Linked DNA regions of Homo sapiens: regions 1, 2, 3, 4, 5 and 6 are each linked to region 7. The links are contacts of gene promoters, found by promoter capture Hi-C in blood cells and fetal thymus (Javierre and others, 2016). All regions are on one chromosome and are shown on one strand. The core of a region is centred on a gene start or on the middle of the fragment in contact, and the rest is flanking DNA. Distances in the headings are between cores, read along the strand shown.

Region 1 (2,950 bases), core at 11-2,510, 1.4 Mb before region 7:
ATCTGCATGGAGGTAGCTGGTGACTTGGGGAGAGCAGTTTCACATGTGGGGAGGGAGCTGATGCCAGAATGTAGTTGAGTAATGAGAGAAAATAAGGAAGACATTGCAACTTTCTGGGAAATTTTGACACTTAAAAGGTAGGAAGGAGATAAGGAAGCACACAGATGAATGGCAGGAGGAGGAAAACAAGAGATACAGACAGGCTCGGTTGTTTGTTTGTTTGTTTGATGGTAGGAGCAACTAGAGAATATTTAAATATTAATGGGAAAGTGCCAGGTGAAGGGGAGGAAGCAAAGGATTTAAACAGAGGATTATAAATAAGCTCTGAGAAACTGGAAATTATGGAACCTTGAGCAGAAAAGAAGAGATCAGCCTTAGGCGTGAAAAATGAGCAGGGTAGTAAAAGAGGAAAATCTGAATTAATCAGGGTTCTCCAGAGAAACAGAAGCAACAGGATGTGTATATTTACATTTAGGGAGACATTTATCCTAAGGAACTGGCTCTCATGATTGTGGGGGCTGGCAAGTCCAAAATCTGCAGGGTAGGCGGCAGGCTGGGGACCCAGGGAGGAGCTGCAGTTAGAATCCAGAAGGCAGTCTGTGGGTAGGATTTTCTCTCCTTCCAGGGAAGTCTGTCTTTTTCTGTTAAGTCCTTCAACGGGATGGATGAGGCCTACCCACATTCTGGAGGATAATCTGCTTTACTCAAAGTCTACTGATTTAAATGTTAATCTCATCCAAGAGGCACCTTTGTAGGAACATCTAGAATAATGTTTTACCAAATATCTAGGTATCATGGCCCATCCAAGCTGACATGAAATTATCCATCGCAAGTCTACCCCTTGCCAATCTAGCACTCAGGAAGAGGAAAAGATAGACGTAATTTAGGATCTTCTGCTATTGACGACATTTAGGTTTTACATTATACCTCAGTTACCTTTTAAAACATTCCAGGTAATTCACATACTTTAAAAACACAGTATAAGGCCAGGTGGAGTGGCTCACGCCTGTAACCCCAGCACTTTGGGAGGTCAAGATGGGTGGATCACATGAGGTCAGGAGTTCAAGACCAGCCTGGCCAACATGGTGAAACCCCGCCTCTACTAAAAATTCCAAAATTAGCCAGGTGTGGTGGCAGGTGCCTGTAATCCCAGTTACTTGGGAGGCTGAGGCAAGAGAATCTCTTGTACCCAGAAGGCAGAGGCCACAGTGAGTGGAGATCGCACCACCGCACTCCAGCTTGGGCAACAGGAGTGAGACTCCGTCTCAAAAAACAAACACAAAAAACCACAGTATAAAGAAGTTTACATGTAGCATTGTTCCATTCAACAAATATTTACTCAGTGCCATGTTCCTGGCACTCTCCTTCATGCTGGGGATAAGGACAAAGATTTCTGCTTTCATGCAGTTTACTGGGTAGAGGAGGGACACACAATTAACAAAACGATAGGTGAGTAGAGCGGAGGGTGATAAATGGAGAAAAATGAAGCAAAGAGGGGGAACAGGGGATGCTGGTGGTGCTTGTGGTCTTCAGTGGGGTGGCCCAGGGAGGCCTCATGGAGAAGCCGATGACACATATGAGGAGTGCTGAAGGGTGTGAGGGAGGCAGCCATTGAGGTAAGGGGGGAAGGGTTCTAGGAGGAAAGAACAGAACGCAGAACCCCTGAAACAGGAAGGTGATGTGGCTGGCATGCACGTGCCTGCAGCCCAGTGTGTCTGGAGCCAAGTAAGCAAGAAGAATAGCAGGAGGTGTGTCAGGGGGAGTAAGGGGGCAGGTGGTGCAGGGCGAGCATGGAGGCTGCTGCAGGGCCGCCCACTTTCCCCGTAAGTGAGGTGGGGTGGCTGGAGCCTTCTGAGCTCCAGATTGCTGTGAGTGGGGCTCCAGCGGGGCTGGTCTTGAACTCCTGACCTCATGTAATCCACCCATCTCGACCTCCACAAGTGCTGGGCCACCCCACTGAAGATCCCTGGGGCTGCTGTATTGAGAACAGACTGAAGGAAAGCAGGGCAAAGGTGAAAACCACAACACCAGTTAGGAGCATATTGCTGCGGTCTAGCTGAGAGGTGGAGGGGACAGTGGACGTGGAGGGAGGTGGTCAGATTCTGTGTGTGTTAGTCATATTTACTGAGCGTGTCATTGCCCTCATTGCTTACGGATATTGCTTTAAGTCTTTTATATGAATTATCTTGTAATCCTCCAACCCTATGAGGTAGGCAGCATCCCTATTCTCATTTTTAACAGAAAATCTCAACCCTATTTTGCTAAACCTGCCATATTTACTTATACAAGAAATCACAGCTGGTGTAAAGTTCCCCTTCAAGGCTGAAGTGCATATTCTCCCGGCTGCTAGGAGTGTTGGCTGCTGGCAGCTCAGAGTCCACCTCCTCTCTGGGAATTGCTCTCAGCCTCAGGGAGTTGCCTCCCCAAGGCTAGACTCCCGTCCTGGATGCAGCGATTGGTTGAAAGCGGGGTTTAAAAGTAAATCTCTTGCCTCCATTCATGACACCTCTAAGGGGACATCCCAGTTCCAGAGCTCCCCATGGGATCAGCTGAGGCCTCAGCTGGAACTGCATTCTACTCAACATCTCCTTTCTTCTGCTGCCCTGGTGTTCCCGAGGGTGCTCCTTAATAAACTTCCTGCTTGCAAATCTTTGCCTTGGATTCTGTTTTCTGGGGAACCATGCATAAGAGAGTTTTTAAAATGAAAAAGTGGTCTAAGATAGCCAGAAAAAGTGAAACTTTTCTGAAAATACATTATGGAGATTTCATTTTGAAATTCAGCTCATAAGTATGGCCACAATGTGACTTAAATTCGTTTTTTTTTTCTAAATGAAATAATGTTTAATTTCCTGAGCTCATGAATAAAACTGCCAGATTTAATTAACACAGCATATATATACTGAGAATGTAATTTCATCAACAAGAAGCAACAAAAATAATTTCGTGTCTA
Region 2 (3,028 bases), core at 271-2,770, 1.5 Mb before region 7:
ACAGATTCCAAATAAATGACATATAGAAAGGAAATATACAAAGAAAATGATCTTGTATGGTATAAGAAGCACAAAACAAATATCAACCCATTCAGATCTTTCACTGTTTTACTAAGCCTTTAAGAGTTCTATACCATAGCCAGGGGTGAGCACATGACAGCCAGTGGATAAATTCTGTGCCACCCCCAAACACGGGCACAAGCCATTAAATAAGAATGGTTTGTACATTTTTAGGTGGTTGAAGAAAATCCAAAGAATGATATTTCATGACACGTGCACATTAAATGAAATTTAAATTTTATAAATTAAGTTCTGTTGGAACCCATTCTGTTACATAATGCCAATGGCTGCTTTATGCTATAACAGTAGACTTAAATAGTTGTGATAGAGACCAGATGACCTGCAAAGCCTAAAAGGATTATTATCTGGCCCATTACAGTAAAGGTTTGTTGACTGCTCATCTAGCCTACTTATAATCTAAGTTACCCTGAAGGAAAAGTTTTAAATAGCTCATTCTCTATTTACTTGCTGATCTGTTACAGCTAAATAAAACATGGTTTCTATCTTTTAGAAAGAAGAGGGGCTGAAGCGGATGCTGCTTGATATCATTTACATGACCTATTTTCAAAAATAACAACTGGCATTAATGTTTATGCAACAAAAATATGCTTACCTGCACTGATGCTTCCCCATCCGGTCACAGCACAGATCTCCGAGGAAAATAGAGGCTCTGCGCTGTGTGGGAGACATACTGGCCTCACCACCGAGTTGTACTCCAGAGGAGAGCTTAGTTGTATTAGGGCAATGTCAGAGTCATAACTTAGTGTGTTAAAGTCTTCATGCACTATTATGTGTTTGGCCCTTCTCACCTGTATCGGTGGCAAGTAAGCAAATTACAACGTAAGAAAGTCAAAGAATCCAGCAACTTCCTTGTTGATGGTCCAAAATAATCCTAAATTTCTGCACTTACATACATAAACAATGCAGAAGACTTTCTATTAAATTTAAAAGAGCAATATTGGTTTACAATTTGCAGGGGGCTATGAACCACCTTCTGGATAAAGGTGGTGCTGGAGAAATAAAGCTTTGAAAACCTGTGTCCATGGGCCTAAATTTGCAATTCTGACCTACTTCCTGCAATTCTCAAGTGAAAATGTAATCTCAAATTGCATTTTTAAATGTGGGTATAAATAATAAGTGTGAAAGGGCCCTAGGAGATTAATAACTAATTACATATTTTAGCTAAAGGTATTCCTTGGCATGTGACAACATTTAGATTACAGGCAGAATGACCTGTAAAAACATTTTTTCACCTGCTCTGTTGATTCCTTCAGGTTTCTGTCATGGTCCCCAGCAATAATAGTCCAGGAGAGTGGATTATTCTTCCTGGAGACAGAAGAACAGTGAAAGTTTGACATGAAAACACATTTGTATTAGTTTGTTCTCACACTGCTATAAAGGACTCTGAGACTATAAAGTCTTTCTGAAGACGTTCTGAGGAAAAGAGGTTTATGAAGAAGAGGTTTAATTGACTTACAATTCTGCATGGCTGGGGAGGCCTCAGGAAACTTACAATCATGGCTGAAGGCAAAGGGGAAGCAAGCACATCTTATCACAGCAAAGCAGAAGAGAGAGAGCAAAGGAAGCCACACACTTTTGAACCATCAGATCTTGCAAGAACTCACTATCAGGTGAACAGGTAGGGAGGGAAACCACCCTACCATCATCTGGCTCTACTAACATGCACTGCTCAGTTCAGCGAGGCAACAGTCCCCTGTCCCATTGCCTCTGCGATCTCCCTCCCAGGGAAGCCACATCATGCCTTCTGATCTATGTGAAAAGGAGCTCTTGATCATGTATCCTGCCCCTTTCTTTTGACCATAAAGTATCATTGGAAACCTTGCCAAATATCACCAAAGGCTTTTTTTAGGTCGAGGAGGAAAAATGAAAATAATTAAAGCTTAATTTCACAGTGATGTTAAGAATATGTTTAAAAAAGACTTGGAACCAACCCAAACATCCATCAATGATAGACTGGATTAAGAAAATGTGGCACACATACACCATGGAATACTACACAGCCATAAAAAAGGATGAGTTCATGTCCTTTGTAGGGACACGGATGAAGCTGGAAACCAACATTCTCAGCAAACTATCGCAAGGGCAAAAAACCAGACACCGCATGTTCTCACTCGTAGGTGGGAATTGAATAATGAGAACACCTAGACACAGGAAGGGGAAGATCACACACCGGGGACTGTTGTGGGGTGGGGGGAGGGGGGAGGGATAGCATTAGGAGATATACCTAATGTAAATGATAAGTTAATGGGTGCAGCACACCAACATGGCACATGTATGCATATGTAACAAACCTGCACGTTGTGCACATGTACCCTAGAACTTAAAGTATAATAAAAAATATATACAAAAAAATCATAAGGAAGAGAAAATACGTTTCTCTTAATACTGTATTTATCTCAGTACTGTATTTATCAATATCTTAAATTTGTTTAATAAATAATAAAAATCTTTGCAAGAAAAAAAGAATATGTTTAAAAAATTATATCTGTGACAAGGTAGCTTCTGGTCTATATTTTACTGTTCAACATTGCCGAATTATGATCTCACTGGGTCATATCTCAGATCGTCATCTTTTGTTAAATCAGAGTTATGAAACTAAAGTTCAAAGGAATTTATCAGTTTAAAAATTGGCAAAACTCAACTATTGCGTTAGAAATCAGAATGCTGATTACTTTTAGGGGAGTGATGACTGGAAGAGGCACAAGGGCGGCTGCTGGGTACTAGTAATGCAGTATTTTGTTTCTTGATCTGGGTGTTGGTTACATGGGTGTTCATTTTGTGAAAAGTTCTGCCTACTTCTGATACACCTCAAAATGATGTTAAGAAGTTTGAATCAATATCCATTAATTTCTCGTATCAAGATCTCCAGCTGAAAAAGTGTCTGAGGAAAGAGTCCCTCTACTGGAACCAATACACTGTCACTTCTACTTGGAGACTAATTCTTCCA
Region 3 (3,389 bases), core at 409-2,908, 1.4 Mb before region 7:
CTAAATCTCAGCTCTGCCCTCACCAGTTGAATGATGTGTTAGATGCTTCATCTCTAGGAGCCCCAGTGGCCAAAGAGAAATGTGCTTATTATTAAATAATCTCTACCTCTCTAGGTTCCTGTAAGAGTGGAGTAAAAGAACATGAGTGATATGCTTAGCCGAGTGTCTGGCACATAGTAGGAGGCAATAAATGCTAACTCCACTTGCTCCTTTCTCCTCTCCAGCAAGATTCCCAGCTCAAATTTCTACCAGAAGCCTCACAGATGGGTTTTTTTTTTTCAGCAGAGGCAGGATGCTATTACAATGCAAGTACTTCCTCTGGAGAGAAAAGGGACTTTCAAGTTCTTCTCTGGTCTTCTTTTTCTTTTACTTCTCAGTTAAAAGACCAGAAACCTGTAGTTGTAGTTAAAACCACAGATTCTTGCAGCTGGATAATTCTATGAGATCACTTGTTCTCACCCTTTGTTTTAAAGAGATGGAGGCCGGGCACAATGGCTCACGCCTATAATCCCAGCATTTTGGGAGGCTGAGGAAGACGGATCATTTGAGGTCAGGAGTTCGAGACCAGCCTGGCTAACATGGTGAAACCCTGTCTCTATTAAAAATACAAAAATTAGCCAAGCATAGTGGCTCATGCCTGTAGTCCCAGCTACTCAGGAGGCTGAGGCAGGAGAATCACTAAAACCTGGAGGTTGCAGTGAGCTGAGATCAGCCCACTGCACTCCAGTCTGGGCAACAGAGCAAGACTCTGTCACACACACACACACACACACACACACACACACACACACACACACACGGATAGAAACTAAGCCTCAGCAAAGTTTAAATTTCCCCGAGCTGTTCAACTGCAGGGGTAGAAAATGCATTATCTACTTCTGATTCATTGCATATTTTATACCAAGGACCTGAGTTTCAAATTGAAAGTGAGAAATTATGTCCCTGGGCTGATGATAATTAATAATAGTTAAAGCTTATTTCATCTTCATTGGGTAATAGGGCCTATGTTGAGGACTTACACGCATTATTGTATTTAGTACTCATGAAAGATGTAGTTACTAGTATTATTTGCACTTTATACACGAGCAGTTGGAGGCACTGCAAGGTAAAATCCTTTTCCCAAGGTCACATGTAATTTTGCAGTAGAACTGAGACTCAAACTCACTAAGCTCTCCCAGCTGCTAGTCTTGAGGAGAACACACAGGAGGTGGTAGTGAGGCAGCATGATGTGGCAGAAAGCACTGGCATCAGTTTCCTGGCCCTGGGCTCTCTCCTCACGTGATTCTCAGTCTGTAATGGGAGAGTGATGGGCTTGTCCTAGACAACTGGTGTGGGCAGGCTCATGAGACATGAGAAGTGCTGAGCAGAGTGCCATTTAAGTGCCAGTTACTGTTGTCCCTGTCACTTGCAGGAGGAGGGTGGCCAGAAAGCTGAGGGAAGAGAGCCCTGCTATGCTGGCCGGCAGACAAGAGGCAAGGCATGAAAACACCAAACTAAGGGAACTGGGCCCTATATCAGGAGGGTACAAATGGGAGGGAGGTTGGCAGAATTGCTAAGGAGTCACCAAGAAGGGAAGGGGCCTTATTTCATGCTTCCTGGGACAGACCCTGCAGGCCACAGACAGGGGTGGAACATGCATATTCCTCTTTCTGTCCTTCCTATTTCTCTTCCTGGCCTACACAGAGCATTTTTAGATTTAAAAGCCTTTTGATTATGTCTAACAGCCTATATGCCAAATTTAATTGTCTGGGTAAAGTTGATCTCCTACTGGGCTTTAGAAAAAATGTTCAGGCACTTGGTACCCTAAAGTAAGACAAATGTATGCAGAAAGAAATTTTCAATGATTATCCACATTTCTCTTATTCTTTTAATTGAATCAGACTAGTCCCAGCTACTCGGGAGGCTGAGGCAGGAGGATCGCTTCAGCCCAGGAGTTTGGAAGTTTGAAGCTGTTGTGTGCTATGATCGCACCTGTGAATAGCCACTGAACTCCAGCCTGGGCAACATAGTGAGTCCTTTTCTCTTAAAAAAAAAATTCCTCTTTCACCTTGAGTTATTCCAAAAATTATTCCTTTTTCACCTATATCTTGAGTCATCCCAAGTCTTTCAGGCAGCACAGGAGCTCAAGGGGACAAGATAACAAAGGATTCCGGGAAAGATTGTAAAGGGTGAATGGGGTGGGAAAATGATTTTCAGGACAAGGGAGACTACTGAAACTCTTGCACTTGACAAAGCAGTCTGGCCTGTTTAATTATCCTCTGTTAGAAATATTTATGCAATGAAGGAAAATGATGACATTCCAACTCCTTCAAGAGAATGTAAACAAAAACCAGGGGATTCCTCAAAGCTTGCTCCCACCCAGCACTTCCTGGGCAGCTCTGTCTTCAGGTCTCCGCGGTGTTTACTGCAGTCATTACAAAAGGAAAAGGAAAGATTGAGAGAAGATTCCTTGCAAAGCACATGATGGATTTAAAACAACGCAACCTCAACTCATTAGTAATCACAGTATAAATGAGTGGAGTTGCAGTAGGGGAGAGGGACTCACAAAAATAGTTTAATCATTAGCAATCTGTTTACATACAAACAACTGCCAAATCTTGAGTAAGTACATAGACATTCTCGTTATTTCCCAGTAACTTAATTTTGGACAGCCACTGACCATGAAATGATAAAAATGTAAATGAAACCACATTTTAAATGAACTAGGAAAGTTCTCTATTTAAAACCTCAGTCACAGTCTCTAAAATGTAACCTGGCAGGTTAGTATTTCTCATACATTGACAAATGGCCAATCTGGCTGGGGTCTGGGTTTACACAATATGGGAGAGGAGTGAAGAATAAGGAGGAAAGTGGCAGGATTATGGAAAGCCCTGAATGCTAAGACATTTGGACTCTATGTGTGTACGCAATGGATATGAAGTGAATTTCTTAGCTGTCCCTAAATTTATAGGAAGGGTCGAAGAAGAGCAGATGTTGGATTTGGAAGAGCAAAATAATGCACTGTGATAGAAGCAATGAAATAAAGAGCTTCAAAATCAGAAGGAGATCAACAGTGTCATATTCTTCACTGCAGAGAAACTAAGGGAGTAAAAGCTGGCAGAGCAGTGAATGCACTAGACAGCTGTGTGAACAGGTGCAAAGGAGAAGCACCAGGCGCTAACCATTCTTCTTGCCAATTTGATCAAAAGCAAAGAGTGAAGACAACAACTGGAGGGAGCGCCTCAACTGAGAAAGATTCCCTAGGGGGATCTGGGGCATGCTGAAGTTGTGGACTGGAGAGAATTTGAAGACCTAAGAGAGAGCCTGTGGTAATAGAAGAGGAGAGAAATAGAATCAGGAACACATGTGGATTCTACATTAATGACCACTAATGGCTAAAACACAGCACC
Region 4 (2,980 bases), core at 234-2,733, 1.4 Mb before region 7:
CTTCACTAGAAGAGTGAAGGCCCCTGGCAGTGTTGTTTTAAACCTATGATGTAGGTTAAAAGGAATGAACCAATGTTCTGGTTCTGACTGATTATGGAAGAATAAAGATGCCATTAAATGTTTTTGCTCACATTGGTCCTGAATCTTTTCTACCCAGGCATAAGACTGTCAATGTATAATGCTGGCTGCAAAGTCCTCTACAAATAAAGTTATACCTCATGATGTACACAAATCTCCCTTTTTAGTTTTATTGTTTATAGAGGCATAAGCAAGGAAAAAATTAAGAGAGGTAAGAGTCTGATGATAGCAGAAAAGTCTTGATCTGTGATCTTGGGAAAGCTGTCCATGTCTAGGATGCCATTTGTTTTGGGGAGAAACTTTCCTGATTAGCTTTATCTTAAGGTTTCAAATGGGTGTATAGGTCAAAGAGTCTGGAGGGCCCTTTTCAGTTGTGAGATTATGAACCTAAGCTTTGAGGTCCCAAAGTTTTGCTGTAGTGTGGGTGGCAAGGGCAGTCTTTTTTTTTTTTTTTTTTTTTTTTTTTTTTTTTTTTTTTTTTGAGATGGAGTTTTGCTCTGTCACCCAGGCTGGAGTGCAATGGCAGGATCTCAGCTCACCGCAACCTCCGTCTCCTGGGTTCAGGCGATTCTCCTGCCTCAGCCTCCCAATTAGCTGGGATTACAGGCACCCATCACCACACCCAGTGGCTAATTTTTGTATTTTTAGTAGAGACAGGGTTTCACCATGTTGGCCAGGCTGGTCTCGAACTCCTGACCTCAGGTGATCCACCCGCCTTGGCTTCCCAAAATACTGGGATTGCAGGTGTGAGCCACTGTGCTCAGCAAAGGGCAGTCTTTTTCTGATATCATTTTCAGAATATCCAGTCTCTGGGTTTTAGACCATGAAGGGTTTGATTGTCCACAGTCACTGATCATGAAAAGCCTTTTTTTTTTTTTAAATCTAGCGAAAGTATACTTTGGCATGATGTATTAAAGCCTTGTAGCATTTAGTCATATCAGAGTTTCAGACCAGAAAGTAAATGAGGTTTTGTTATTAGGGATATGGGCCCTCTACCGACTATTTTAGAAAGGCCAACTTACGTTTTCCCCTGGAAGTGGATCTGATTATCCACTGTATCCACTGTAATACTTTTGAATAAGACAATCTAGTTGAATCAGTTACCTTTGCCTAATGCTATTGTATCTGAAATACCTTATTTGTTTTACAACTTGTCCAGTGAATCAAGTGCCTTTTATTGCTAGAGATTTTTCTAGGAATGTCCCATGAGGGAAACACACTTTCTAATAATGTTTTAGCTACTATTACAGCCATCAGATTTTTGTATGAGAAAGCTTTCATATAACCAGAAAATACGCATTAAAAATGACAGTTGAATGAAATTTCTCTATAAATGTTTAAATGGCCCATCAGGTAGCAGAAATGTACCTGAAGTTTTGATTGTCTTCCCAGGATTATGAGTTTGACCACCCAAATATTAGTCAACCATTTTAGCAATTTAGAATAGTCACCATACCAATAAATACTTTAAAAATGTAACCTGGATCAGTTTATCCCTCCTATGATGAGTGATGGCATACAGAACTTTTAACAATGAAAGCTTGAAGGACTTTGGAAGGACCAGGTGGCCATTTAGGCTCTCCATGAGTATATGCTTAATACTGAATTTAGATCCTCTCAAAAACCAATTTTGTTTTTCAATTCAGATGTATAGCACTGTTTATTAGGTGGGCCATCATAGGTAATTTGAATTGGACCATAGAAGTTTATTTAAATTGTATACTTAAAACATTTTAGTGAGAGCTGATTTAGCATGAAAATCTGGCAAAGTGTTTTCTTGGTATTCAATTAATTCTTGTCTTGCTTGGGTTAGAAGTTTTATAACCCAGTCAGTCTCTTCATTAGAGTTTTGGGAATTCTTAATCCAAATAATGTGATCTTTAAGTTATCAGAAACCTGTTTTCAAGAGTGCTTGTCAGGGTTCTTTTCATCCTTTCTGTGAACCTCCTTGAAGATACGCCATTCTAGGATTTTACTTCTTTATCAAGAGCTTTTAGAAAATGTATCATAATTAAGCAATTAACTATGGAAAAGTTAACTATGGTCATGGTTAAAGATGTAATTGACAAAAAAGTTGTTTTTTTTCTCCTGTGGCCTATAATAATTTAATATAATAACCATAATTATGATGGATAACATACCAAGACATATCAGAATTTTAGGAATCTCATAATTTTGGAACATATATTAATAATGTATTCATAAAAACATAACTCAAGGCTAAACATTACTTATTTGACAATGCTTCTCATAGTTTAACATGTCAAATAAGTCTATAAACTCTCTTTTGGATGCTGCAGAAGGCCTCTGCAGAGTGTCTCAAGTTAGTTGAGGTCAAAAAGACTTCATTTCCAACTTGAAATTTGATTTAAGGAAAGAAGCCTGTCAAATATGTCAAAGGTTTAAAACATTTAATTAAAATATGATCACAGGTCACTGTAGAATAATAGTAATTCATTTAGCCAAAATGGTAATTAAAAGGTTTTAAAAAGCATTTATTCCTTGAGGGAGAAGAGGCTCTGTTTTTCAATCAAAAGATCTGAGAAAGACAACATGAGACAGAAGCTGTGTCAAGTTAAACTTAACACCATGCATGTGCCATGCATGTATACAGTGAAACAGAACAGTGAGTGAGAGACACAATCCCTACCTTCACCACTGAGTGGAATTCAGACAAGAAGGAGGCAATAATGTAGCTGTGGGAGGAGAAGCACAAGGTATGTGGGGGGCAGCCAAGAGTGGCATCCACACCTGGGGATAGATACTGTACACCTGTCATGATCCAAATGCCCAAGGGCATTGGTCACTATTTACTTCAGTGGCTGTGTAACACAGATGTGCTTGAAAACTATCTGTGGCTACGTGAGATCTGAAAAACATCTTTATAACCAAGCTAGTTAAG
Region 5 (3,170 bases), core at 397-2,896, 1.4 Mb before region 7:
CCCTTTGTTTCCAGAGTTCAAAACCCACAGCTTCAACTGAGACCCTATTCTTATATACAAAGGTTTAGTCCCTTACAGGCCTCACATAATAATGCCTTTCCATTAAGTGGAAAAAGAGCCATTCAATAAGAATTACACACCATTAATAGCCAGGCCATAGGCCAGGCGCAGTGGCTCACGCCTGTAATCCCAGCACTTTGGGAGGGTGAGGCAGGCGGATCACCTGAGGTCAAGAGTTCGAGACCAGCCTGGCGGCCAACATGGTGAAACCCCATCTCTACTAGAAATAAAAAAAATAGCCGGGTGTGGTGGCACATGCCTGTAATCCCAGCTACTCGGGAGGCTGAGGCATGAGAATCGCTTGAACTAGAAGGCGGAGGTTGCAGTGAGCCAATATCGTACCACTGCACTCCAGCCTGGGTGACAGAGTGAGACTCCATCTCAAAAACAAACAAACAAACAAAAAAAGCCAGGCCATTAGTTTTAGTTTTAGACTCAAATTTTCTAAAAAAGTAATGGTTTCAATATAAATTGAGTTTGTAGTTATATTAAAACATCCAAATGGAAGAATCCTCTTTTTATGTTTAAAATAACTTCAGAAAAGGAAAGGATACCAAGGAGAGGAGTGGACTGGACTACCCCCAGACAGTGGTGACTTGTGATGTACAGCAAATCTGTCTTTAATTTGGACATCTTCACTAGTATAGGACAACTGTGATCTGCTATTCGAAAAGCTTGGCTGTGAAGGGCAGACGGAGATGTGATAGCAGCTACAGATAAAATGAAACAGAGGATTTTTTTTTTCAAATTGTTTCGGTGTTGATTGCCTGTGTATGTGCTTTAAGAAGAGTAGAACTGACAAATTGACAAGAGCCAGCAAAAGGAAGAAGTAAAAAGATGAAGGAGAAGTTAAGGCATGGAATGAAGTTCCATAAGAGGCAAAATGCAGAACCTAGGGTCCTCTTCTTCCATTACGATAACAGGAGAAAAGAAAGGATAGAATTAGGTGCAGGTAAATGTATAGATGAAGTGCAGGGCATTGGGGGACAGCTGCTTTCTACCTTTTATTTACTCTGTGAAGAGAGAGGTGACAGCATCTAAGCATGATAGGGGAGCGGATCTGGAGTGGGTGAGTACTGAATTGGCACTGTGCGGAGGAAGGGAAAGAGAGCAGACAGGAAGCACACAGAATAATGCAATGAAATGAGTAAATGAAAGAATGAAGGAAGGAAGATGGTCCTTTTTAAAACATTGTTAAAACAGACACTCCTGGTGACATGGACATCAGTAGGTACTAACCATGAAGTACTTGAGAGATTGAAACCAGACATACTTATTTTAATCATATTTTATATAAAATAGACATTTACATAAATTTAATTTTGGAAAGACCTAGGCAAAGTATACATCATTAGACTCAATGGGAGAAATACTTTATGGAAGATAAATTCTAACGGGCACAGCCAAAGTAACAAAAATGTACATTTACATACAACTGATCCAAACAGGAAGTAAAAGCATTATGAAAAAAGAACATGATGCAAATCATTTCCCCCTGACAAAAGGAGGGATCTGCGTGAATTACAGCAAATCAAATGATTTCCACATTATAAAAGCAAGCCATGGCTTCTACAGATATTTTAATTCCTTGGGAGGAAGTTTCACCTCATCTTTTTTCCCCAGTAAAGTAACAATCACTGTAGGAATTTTTAAGTGCACAAACTGCAAAATAGGAGTAACTACCTCTGCCATGTTCAAGCACTTGGGCAATTCAGTCACTTTTAGGGTTGTATCATTTAAAAAAGGGGCAACATTTATGAATTATCTCATCAGATGCATGGTGTTTTTCAATCCAGATTCAAGAGTAACTATTAGAGTTACTCATTGAGCTTAATGGAAACATCAAACCGACGAGTCCTTTCATGGGTGGTAAACATGACTGGGAGACAATGGCTAACTTGCCCCAGGTAAGGTGGCTCTTCAGTGGCAGAGCTAGAACTAGAACTAGAACTCAGATGTCTTGATTCTTGGGGTAGTGTACCCCTCCTATGGACCAGCAAGATAAATAACCCCCAAAGGACATCACACATACTGAAAACTACCAAATTTGTTACATATATATATATACAACGTGTACTACTGAGAATGCAAAGAAACTACTGGATTTTTAGAAATAGACATGTCTCTCCAGGTAGGAGTCAATGGTGATCTATGCTTACAAACCAATAATGACCATATATTGTGGTGGATGCTGATTTTATGAGTTACAGGCCCTAAAGATTTTAATTGAAAAGATCAATTAAAATCAATATTTTAATATCAGCCAATTGATTGTTATAAAGATCTTATCAATTCTGTTGTGCCACTTTGATTGATATTAAACCATACTTTTGATTGCAGTTATTTTCTGTTCTCTTTAAATTACATGGCTACAAATAAAATATTGAGGGAAATAATATTTTTTGGAAGAACTATTCAGCATATTTTCCTTTTGCATCAAAAACGTCAAGAATAATCATAAAATCTTATAATATTTCTCTATATTATTTTTTGACATCCTAAGCTTTTATCTTATTCAACTGCAACCTCAATGCTAGATTTGACAGGTACTTAATTCTTTTTAAATGTCAAAAGATACCATTTAAATAGCTAAGTTAACCTATATTTGGGAGATACCAACATATAATCAAATCAAAGTAAACATAATTTGGAAACCAGGAACAAAAATTTTTAAAAAATCACCTCTCACTATATTTGTTTTGAATGTCATTCCTAATATCCTCTAAATTTATTATTTTAAGAAGGTGAATCCACCACAAATCAAAGCAAAAGTTTTTTTTTTTTTCAAAAACAGATTCTAACAAGTACAAAGAAATAATTAACAAAAGCTCATGTGTGCCCAAAATAAAGATAGAGATGTAGGCATAAACTCTATACCATGGACACCTTCTATGAGTCACGAAAATATCAGTCATATATATACTGGCACTTAGTCTGGTACATGCAAATTTCAAGGCAATTCCTCTCCATCTGAGAACGAGGAATTGTGTCATTTTAAGGCCAAATTGCAGTCCAATTGCCACAAGTGCAAAACCACCCCACATAACCACCTATTTGTAATCATGGAATGATAGCCTCAACCAACCAATTGTGCCATACATCATTGTTAA
Region 6 (3,079 bases), core at 175-2,674, 1.4 Mb before region 7:
ATTTTCTGCTTGACATGTTTTGGCCTATACTTGAGGTGTGAATTTAGATGGTAGATCTGCACGAGTATTAACCTGTAGTTCAAATTCTCAAATAATTTTTTACCTCTCCCTACATCTACTGCCAAGGTTGAGGCATGTAACTTTCCATGTGGGTGGGTTTACACTTTGTTTAGCCTTACGCTAAAGACAGTGTTTGGTGACTCAGCCTTATATGAACCTATCTTAGGAATTTTGTTTTCTCCTATTGAAGCAGTATTTTACAATGAATTTTTTTGTCTTGATTTATTGAAATATAGTACAAATAGATGCTAATACTCATTGGGTTTTACTGCTACTGAAAGTCTTATTAATCTCTGGTTGACTCCTTACTTTAGTCCCTATAAACTATTTATATCTTAACTATTTTATCTCTACTTCATCTACTAAAGTTGAAGCAATTAAAATCTCATGTGATAACTAAGACATCCAGTGTAAATTCCTTCAACTTTCCTACAGATTACCTTCTTTGTTGCTTTCCCAGAAAAGGAATTATTCTGCCCTCTTTTCAATGCCAAACCTTCTTTATTTGTTGTGTTCTCAGAAAGCTTACTTCACATTTCTATGTGTTTCCTATGACTGTTGACTCTCACTCTCTCTCTGTCCATAAGCACAGTTGAGTCTACTTTATCAAAACAAAGTGCCTCTCTTGACCCTACTGTCTAAAAGCCACCACCCCAATGTTTCCATCTCAGACAACAGTTCTATTCTTCCAATAGCTCAGGTTAAAAACTGTTAGGTTACTCATATGGGGATCTCATTCTCCCTCAAAACCCAAACTGTCAACTCATCAGCAAATCCTACGGCCCTACCACTCTTCACCACCTCTACAAATGTGGTCAAAGCTAGACTTTTACCTGGATGACTGCATCATCTTTTACCTGGACTATTGCAGTAGTTGGTCTCCCAGCTTGTGGTCTTGCCTGCCTACAGTCTATCTGCAACCCAGTAATAAAAGTGATCTTTTAAAAATGTGTCAGATCATGATCTTCCTCATTCAAAATCCTCCAATGGCTCTCTAGCTCCTTTACGGTAAAATCCAAAGTTCTTTTCATGCCCCGCAAGTCCTAAAGAATTTGGCCACATTGCCCCTCTCCAGCCACTCAACTCTGGCTCTCTGGTCAATTTGCTATTCCCCAAATATACCAAGTGTATTCTTGTCTCACACATACCATTCCTTCTGCCTTAATGTTCCTTTCCAAAATGATCATATAATTCCCTCCCTTGCTTTATCCAAGTCCTTTTTTTCAAGTATCATCTTTATAACGTGGTCTTCCCTAACCACCCTCTCTGATATTGTATACTTTCATTCTCCACCCCCCTTTCTTGCCTTATTTTTTGATATAGCATTTACTACCTTCTACTATTATATGTAATCTTTAAAAATTATCCCATTTCCACCTTCTAACTTGCCCCACAAAGGCAAACATTTTTGTGTGTTTCATTCACTGCTGTATCTCTAGCACCTAAGACAGTGTCTTACACATCCTGAGGGTTCAATAGAAATTTGTTGATTATTTGGGATACTAAATTTTCAACAGTCACTTAACCCACTATGAATGTGGCTTCTGATCCTACAGTTCTGCTCAGTTCAAGAAGTTTGAGTTTCTATATGCGATGGCATTTGATCTGATTTTTACTTCTAAAATAACCCTTCTTCTCTTGAAACTTTTTCTTGCAGAGATCTCTGAAATGCTTAACTGTCTAAGTTGGGTCACTGTGTTTGAGGGTAAGTAGGCTGCCATCTGCATGTCTCTTACCCAATATACAAATACTTTGCTCAAATATCCACTTATCAAGAGCATTGATTACTTCCTGAAGCAGGCTAGTTAATTTCAGAAATCATTCAAACAAGAAATGACTTAATATTGAATTGAACTCTGCCTTCTAACTTCTACCCAGTGGTCTTAGTTTTCAGCTCTGCAATTATTCAGAACAAGTCTAACTCTGTTTCTTTAGTAGCCTCTAAGATAAATCAAGACACTTCCCTCCTCCTCTTCAGTCTTCTTTGGATCAAAAAATATTATGGTTCCTATAACCATACCTCTCAAAACATTGTTCTGAATTTTTCCCATCTTGGTCATTTTCCTTCAGACAAATTCTGGCTTATCAATCTCCCTGTCTAAACATTGTACCCTAGAGGTCCTAGAGGTCCCTGAGACTCTAATAAAGGAGTTTCTTAAACTCTTGTTCTAAATATCCTTCTAACAGCTTAAGCAAAGGTGGCAAAAGCTTTATTGGCATTCTATCATCACAAGTTTGCCTGAGACAAAGTCAGTTTAGACCATTAAGCGTTTTAAATTATGAGCTGAAATTAAGCCACATCTTTTCTATCTGTACTTGAAATAAATATTTATATTCATTTTACATTAGTTTTGAAAGTTATAATCTTTCCATCATTTTAGTTTTAGCATACCCATTGGTTGTAGCATAAGGTCTAATCTCTCTGCATGGAACTCAAGGTCCTCTGCAATTAAGTCCCGATCATCCTTTCTATTCTCATCATCCACTGCTACCCCAGTTCCCATTCACATTGTTGTCCAGTCACAGTGGGATACTCAAAACCCAAAAAACCCCAATCTTCCCCACCTCCTTGACATTGCTTATATCTAATTCCCTTGGCATAGAATGACCTCTTCCTGCCTCTCCATCTGTTGAAATCTTCAGTATTAGAGCTACCAAAGACCTCATGAGCTATAAAATCATAACTATCCTTCAACGCCTCATTTCAATGCCATCTTTTCCACTATAACATTTATATCTCTCCCCACACTTCTAACCACTCCACACATACCTTAAAAACCACACCAAAGAGAATTAGTCTCTATCTTTTATAGTGTGCACTTTCTTGGATGGTATGGATTATAAAGCTTATTTCCTCTTGTAGTATAGTTATTTTTGTCTAGCTCTTTCTACCAGATTATAAACTTGTAGAACTGTTATCTTTGTAGTACACTATTCAAGTCTCAGTACGATTTTAAAAATGAATTTAGATCACTTAAGAAAATGAGATACTTGCAGAAAGATTTTCTAAAGCTTAAAG
Region 7 (3,373 bases), core at 708-3,207:
CTTCTCTGAGTCTTTCTAACCATCCCTGTCTGTTTAAACTGCTCCGTTAGAGGCCAAGTTTTGTTTCCTGCGCCCTTTCTCAGTGTCCCTGTACCTCCGGTTGGATTTCTAGGAAACAGACTCTGCACAGAGATGGAGATGGTATGTGGGAGGTCTCCTGGGACGTGCTCTTGGGAACAACACCTTGAGAGAGTGAGGGAAACAGGATTCGGCAGAGAATGAACTTTAACTGTGCTGCTTTCCACAGAGGCCTCGGCGGATCCCTTGGGAAGCTATGGAGCTGGGGTGGCCCTTCAGGGCCCTCCGTAATGGAAGCAAAGAGGTGAACCTTTGTATCTCCCCATCAACCAATTGGATCCGAGATACAGATGCCCCGCCCCAAGGAGTGGCAACCTGGTTTATATAAGCCACCACTCAAATAGTTATCTTGAACTAGCCCAGAGATCTCCTTCTTTCTAAATCTAAACCTATTTTCTTGGGCGCCCTCCTCCGTGGTGTCCCTGCAGCCCGGGCCCCGGCCCCCATTGAACCTCCCTCTTCTCCTGAGTCCTGACACCCCGCACAGTCCTGACCTTCCCTTATGGTTTCTCCTGATAGTTTCCGTTCCTTTCATGGGCTCCTTCTCGGTAGACCTAGATTCTGTCTTCAGCCCTGTTCTCTGTACCTTTTCTACCCTCTCCCTCCACCTCTTGTGTCGGCCCAACTTCTTTCCAGATGATTCCAAAATTGACATCCCTTGCCTCAGTCTCTCCTATGAACTCCAGAATCACCCTTCCAATTGCATTTGCTGGATATCTGCCCCTGGAAGAAGGTGGCCTGCTTCTCCAATCCAACTTGCTCCACACTAAACTCAGTCACATCACTCCAGGTTCTCCTCCAGACTTCCACAATGTTACAGCCCCAGTGTGCTCCTCCTACACCACACAGTCTGTAGACTCTCCTTTGCTGCAGCTTCCGCATTCATCCCCCAGTTAAGGTCCTCATCTCACGGGACTATTGGAATCATCTCCTTCCTGTGTGGCCCCCCGCGAAGCCCTTCTCAGCAGCCAGCTGGGGTATTTAGAACGTTGGTGCTCCCGGTACAGTGGCTTTGTCAGCGTCCCCTGCCTCCAGTGGCTTCCCTGATCTAGCAACCTGGTAAATGGGTAATCTTCCTCACTGCAGCTAAGTTTCAAAAGAACACGGTTGGATAAGCACAAGGCCCTTGTTACTTTGGGAAATAGATAATCCATGCCCCACTGTTAGGGCCAGTCCCGTTAGGGCCAGCTTTGCACCTTCACAGGGACTCAGCAGGAACAGATGGGCTCTACTCTCTGTTATTCCTTTTTGCTTCAGATTAGAGAGACCTTGATTCTCCCCGGGGCCCAGGAAATGTAAAGCTGATGCTCCACAGGACTCTAAGAGGGACACGGCAGTGATGGGGGCTGGTGAGGAAGGGGGATGGAGAACCTCTCTCTTATCAGACAGGCTTGTCCCTAGGGTCCCTGGAAACCCCCAAAGGCCAACCTCTCCCAGGGGCCGACAAACGTAAAGGGCAGGGAGACCTAAGCGGGGAGCTGCGGAGCGCGGGGAGTTTGAAAGCCGCTCCACCGCCCTACTAGTCCGTCCTTTTGCCCCGCCCCCCTTAGGGATCCCCCCGGCAACCGCACAGCTGCCTCGGACTCTGACTTAATTCCCTCCGCGTGCTCTGAATCGCAGAGAGGCAAACCCCCAAACAAAGAGCCGGCAGCTCGCGTGCGGGGCTCCCGGGCGCGTCCTGCCGGCTGGGCTGGGAGAGCCGGCGCCGGGGCGTCGCGGCCGAGCGCTGGGCAGGCGGGGACTAGAGGGCCGGCAGGAAGCCTCAGTGGGCGCAGGGGCGCGGGCCGGGCTGCCCACACGCTGACCTTCCCGGGCTGGGAGGGAGGAGCGCTGGCTGCGGGCGGTGGGCGGCTGGGCGGCCCCGGGAGCCGCCGCTCTCAGTCTCTCTAGGCGCAGCTCCCTTCGCCGCTTCCGGAGCCCCTGGCAGGGTAAGTGCAGAAGCGCGCCCGAGGAGTGGGGGCGCCGCGGGAGGGGGCTGGGGGTCCAGGAGAGGCGCCTCCACCTCCGCTGCCCGCCCCGCCGGCAGTCCCGAGCTAGACTGTCCCGAGCTTCCCCCGGGCGGGCAGAGGGAAGCCGGCTGGGGATGAGGAGTGGAGGAGGCAGGAATGCCTGGGACACTCGCGGGGCATGTGAGCAGGTATTGGTGTCTGCATGGGACACGCAACACGGTGTCCATAACTATGCGCATGAGTCTGCCTTTCTGCACTTGTGCCTTGGGAGAGAGCTCTGGGCCTCTGAGGGCCTCGTGCCGTCCAGCGTGCCCGGGGCATGTCTGTTCCTCTTGAAAATGTCATTCTTTGTCCACCCTGAATTCGAGTAGCTGCCTCTCATGGCTACACCAAAATGCTGTATCTGGTGCACATTGCTTTCAGAGGGCCTGTCTGCCTGTGCAGGGATGTCCTCATGTTCTGGGCACGTCTGTGTATTTGTGACAACATGGCTGTGTAGGCCCTGTCACCTGTGTTTTCGTGCCCATCCCTGCATGTGCAGTTGGCCGGCTCCGTGTGGAAAGAAGGCATGGAAGGTTCTGGGGTGTATCCTTTTCACCAGCCATATGTGCAGTGTGCACATGTGTGAATTGGTGGAAAGTATGAAAGGGAGGCAGCCCAGTTGGGCTTGGCGGGACAGCATCTTAACTTGAGTCTAAGCTGCTGTGTGCAGGAGGAATAAGTGTTCCAGAGGTCTCCAGTTCGTGGCAAGTATTGTGAGGTGAGCGTGGGGGTGGGGGGTGAGGAGAAGAGGCAGCTTCTGGAAAAACTCATAAGTGCACTCTGGGGCATAGGGTGTGTGTGGGGGAGCGTGAAGAAGAGAATGAGGGTGGTATTAGGCCAAAGTGGATAGTCTGTGTTCAATTTGTGGGCAGCTGGATTGCAGTGGAAAGCAGCAGTTAGAGGCTGGAGACAGGTTTGAATCAGAACTTAATGGTTGTCACTGTGTCAGTAGCATTGTTCCCTGGACAGATAGGTCATCTGGGGCTCAGTTGCTTTTTGTGCAAAATGGGACTAATAACCACTGGCCCCATCTGTCTCCCAAGGGACTGGAGGCTCCAATTAATGCCTGGAAATGCTTTGATGATAGTTAAGACTCCTAGGGTAAGGGGCACTACTGGCCTACAGGGGCCAAGTTGGTGGTCTGGCGAGGGCTTAGGTGGCCCAGAGCTGTTTGGTTTGTGGGTAGCAGAGGGAGGCATTTGTGTGCTGTTTCCCACTATATTCAGCATAGCAGGAATTTTATACCCACCTTTGGACTCGTGTGTAAAATATGTACAGGCCTGTGTGATTCCCCATAGTTCTTG

The links. The method cuts DNA at HindIII sites, captures the fragments that hold promoters and counts their contacts. A CHiCAGO score of 5 or more calls a contact.
Region 1: a fragment that was not itself captured here is called in contact with the fragment with the promoter of TSPAN11 in region 7 in 3 of 17 cell types (naive CD8 T cells, non-activated CD4 T cells and erythroblasts); the score reaches 6.5 in naive CD8 T cells.
Region 2: a fragment that was not itself captured here is called in contact with the fragment with the promoter of TSPAN11 in region 7 in 1 of 17 cell types (total B cells); the score reaches 5.8 in total B cells.
Region 3: a contact is called between a fragment that was not itself captured here and the fragment with the promoter of TSPAN11 in region 7, in 8 of 17 cell types (naive B cells, total B cells, total CD4 T cells and 5 more). The highest score is 11.0, in naive B cells.
Region 4: a contact is called between a fragment that was not itself captured here and the fragment with the promoter of TSPAN11 in region 7, in 6 of 17 cell types (naive B cells, naive CD8 T cells, non-activated CD4 T cells and 3 more). The highest score is 6.5, in naive B cells.
Region 5: a contact is called between a fragment that was not itself captured here and the fragment with the promoter of TSPAN11 in region 7, in 5 of 17 cell types (naive B cells, activated CD4 T cells, M1 macrophages and 2 more). The highest score is 7.1, in naive B cells.
Region 6: a fragment that was not itself captured here is called in contact with the fragment with the promoter of TSPAN11 in region 7 in 1 of 17 cell types (total B cells); the score reaches 5.8 in total B cells.

The regions. Positions count from the first base shown.
Region 1 is chr12:29,564,581-29,567,530 of GRCh38, forward strand. The region is part of intron 9 of TMTC1 (transmembrane O-mannosyltransferase targeting cadherins 1); the gene reads right to left. Among named protein-coding and RNA genes, the nearest start is that of OVCH1, 68 kb to the left of the region's middle. The HindIII fragment of the contact is 6,262 bases long and covers 1-2,950 here.
Region 2 is chr12:29,463,834-29,466,861 of GRCh38, forward strand. It overlaps OVCH1 (ovochymase 1), which reads right to left. Exons shown (of 26, transcript NM_001353179.2): 17 at 1,314-1,386; 18 at 674-869. All of the region lies in intron 1 of OVCH1-AS1 (OVCH1 antisense RNA 1), which reads left to right. Among named protein-coding and RNA genes, the nearest start is that of OVCH1, 32 kb to the right of the region's middle. The HindIII fragment of the contact is 876 bases long and covers 1,083-1,958 here.
Region 3 is chr12:29,544,878-29,548,266 of GRCh38, forward strand. All of the region lies in intron 10 of TMTC1 (transmembrane O-mannosyltransferase targeting cadherins 1), which reads right to left. All of the region lies in intron 5 of LOC105369714 (a long non-coding RNA gene), which reads left to right. Among named protein-coding and RNA genes, the nearest start is that of OVCH1, 49 kb to the left of the region's middle. The HindIII fragment of the contact is 1,374 bases long and covers 972-2,345 here.
Region 4 is chr12:29,524,642-29,527,621 of GRCh38, forward strand. All of the region lies in intron 11 of TMTC1 (transmembrane O-mannosyltransferase targeting cadherins 1), which reads right to left. All of the region lies in intron 2 of LOC105369714 (a long non-coding RNA gene), which reads left to right. Among named protein-coding and RNA genes, the nearest start is that of OVCH1, 28 kb to the left of the region's middle. The HindIII fragment of the contact is 266 bases long and covers 1,351-1,616 here.
Region 5 is chr12:29,499,507-29,502,676 of GRCh38, forward strand. It overlaps TMTC1 (transmembrane O-mannosyltransferase targeting cadherins 1), which reads right to left. Exons shown (of 18, transcript NM_001193451.2): 18 at 1,334-3,170. Among named protein-coding and RNA genes, the nearest start is that of OVCH1, 3.4 kb to the left of the region's middle. The HindIII fragment of the contact is 1,829 bases long and covers 733-2,561 here.
Region 6 is chr12:29,481,068-29,484,146 of GRCh38, forward strand. All of the region lies in intron 9 of OVCH1 (ovochymase 1), which reads right to left. The region is part of intron 1 of OVCH1-AS1 (OVCH1 antisense RNA 1); the gene reads left to right. Among named protein-coding and RNA genes, the nearest start is that of OVCH1, 15 kb to the right of the region's middle. The HindIII fragment of the contact is 1,684 bases long and covers 583-2,266 here.
Region 7 is chr12:30,924,791-30,928,163 of GRCh38, forward strand. TSPAN11 (tetraspanin 11) reads left to right here and starts at 1,958. Exons shown (of 8, transcript NM_001370302.1): 1 at 1,958-2,006. LOC124902911 (a long non-coding RNA gene) reads right to left here and starts at 1,899. Exons shown (of 2, transcript XR_007063264.1): 1 at 1-1,899. The HindIII fragment of the contact is 3,619 bases long and covers 1-3,373 here.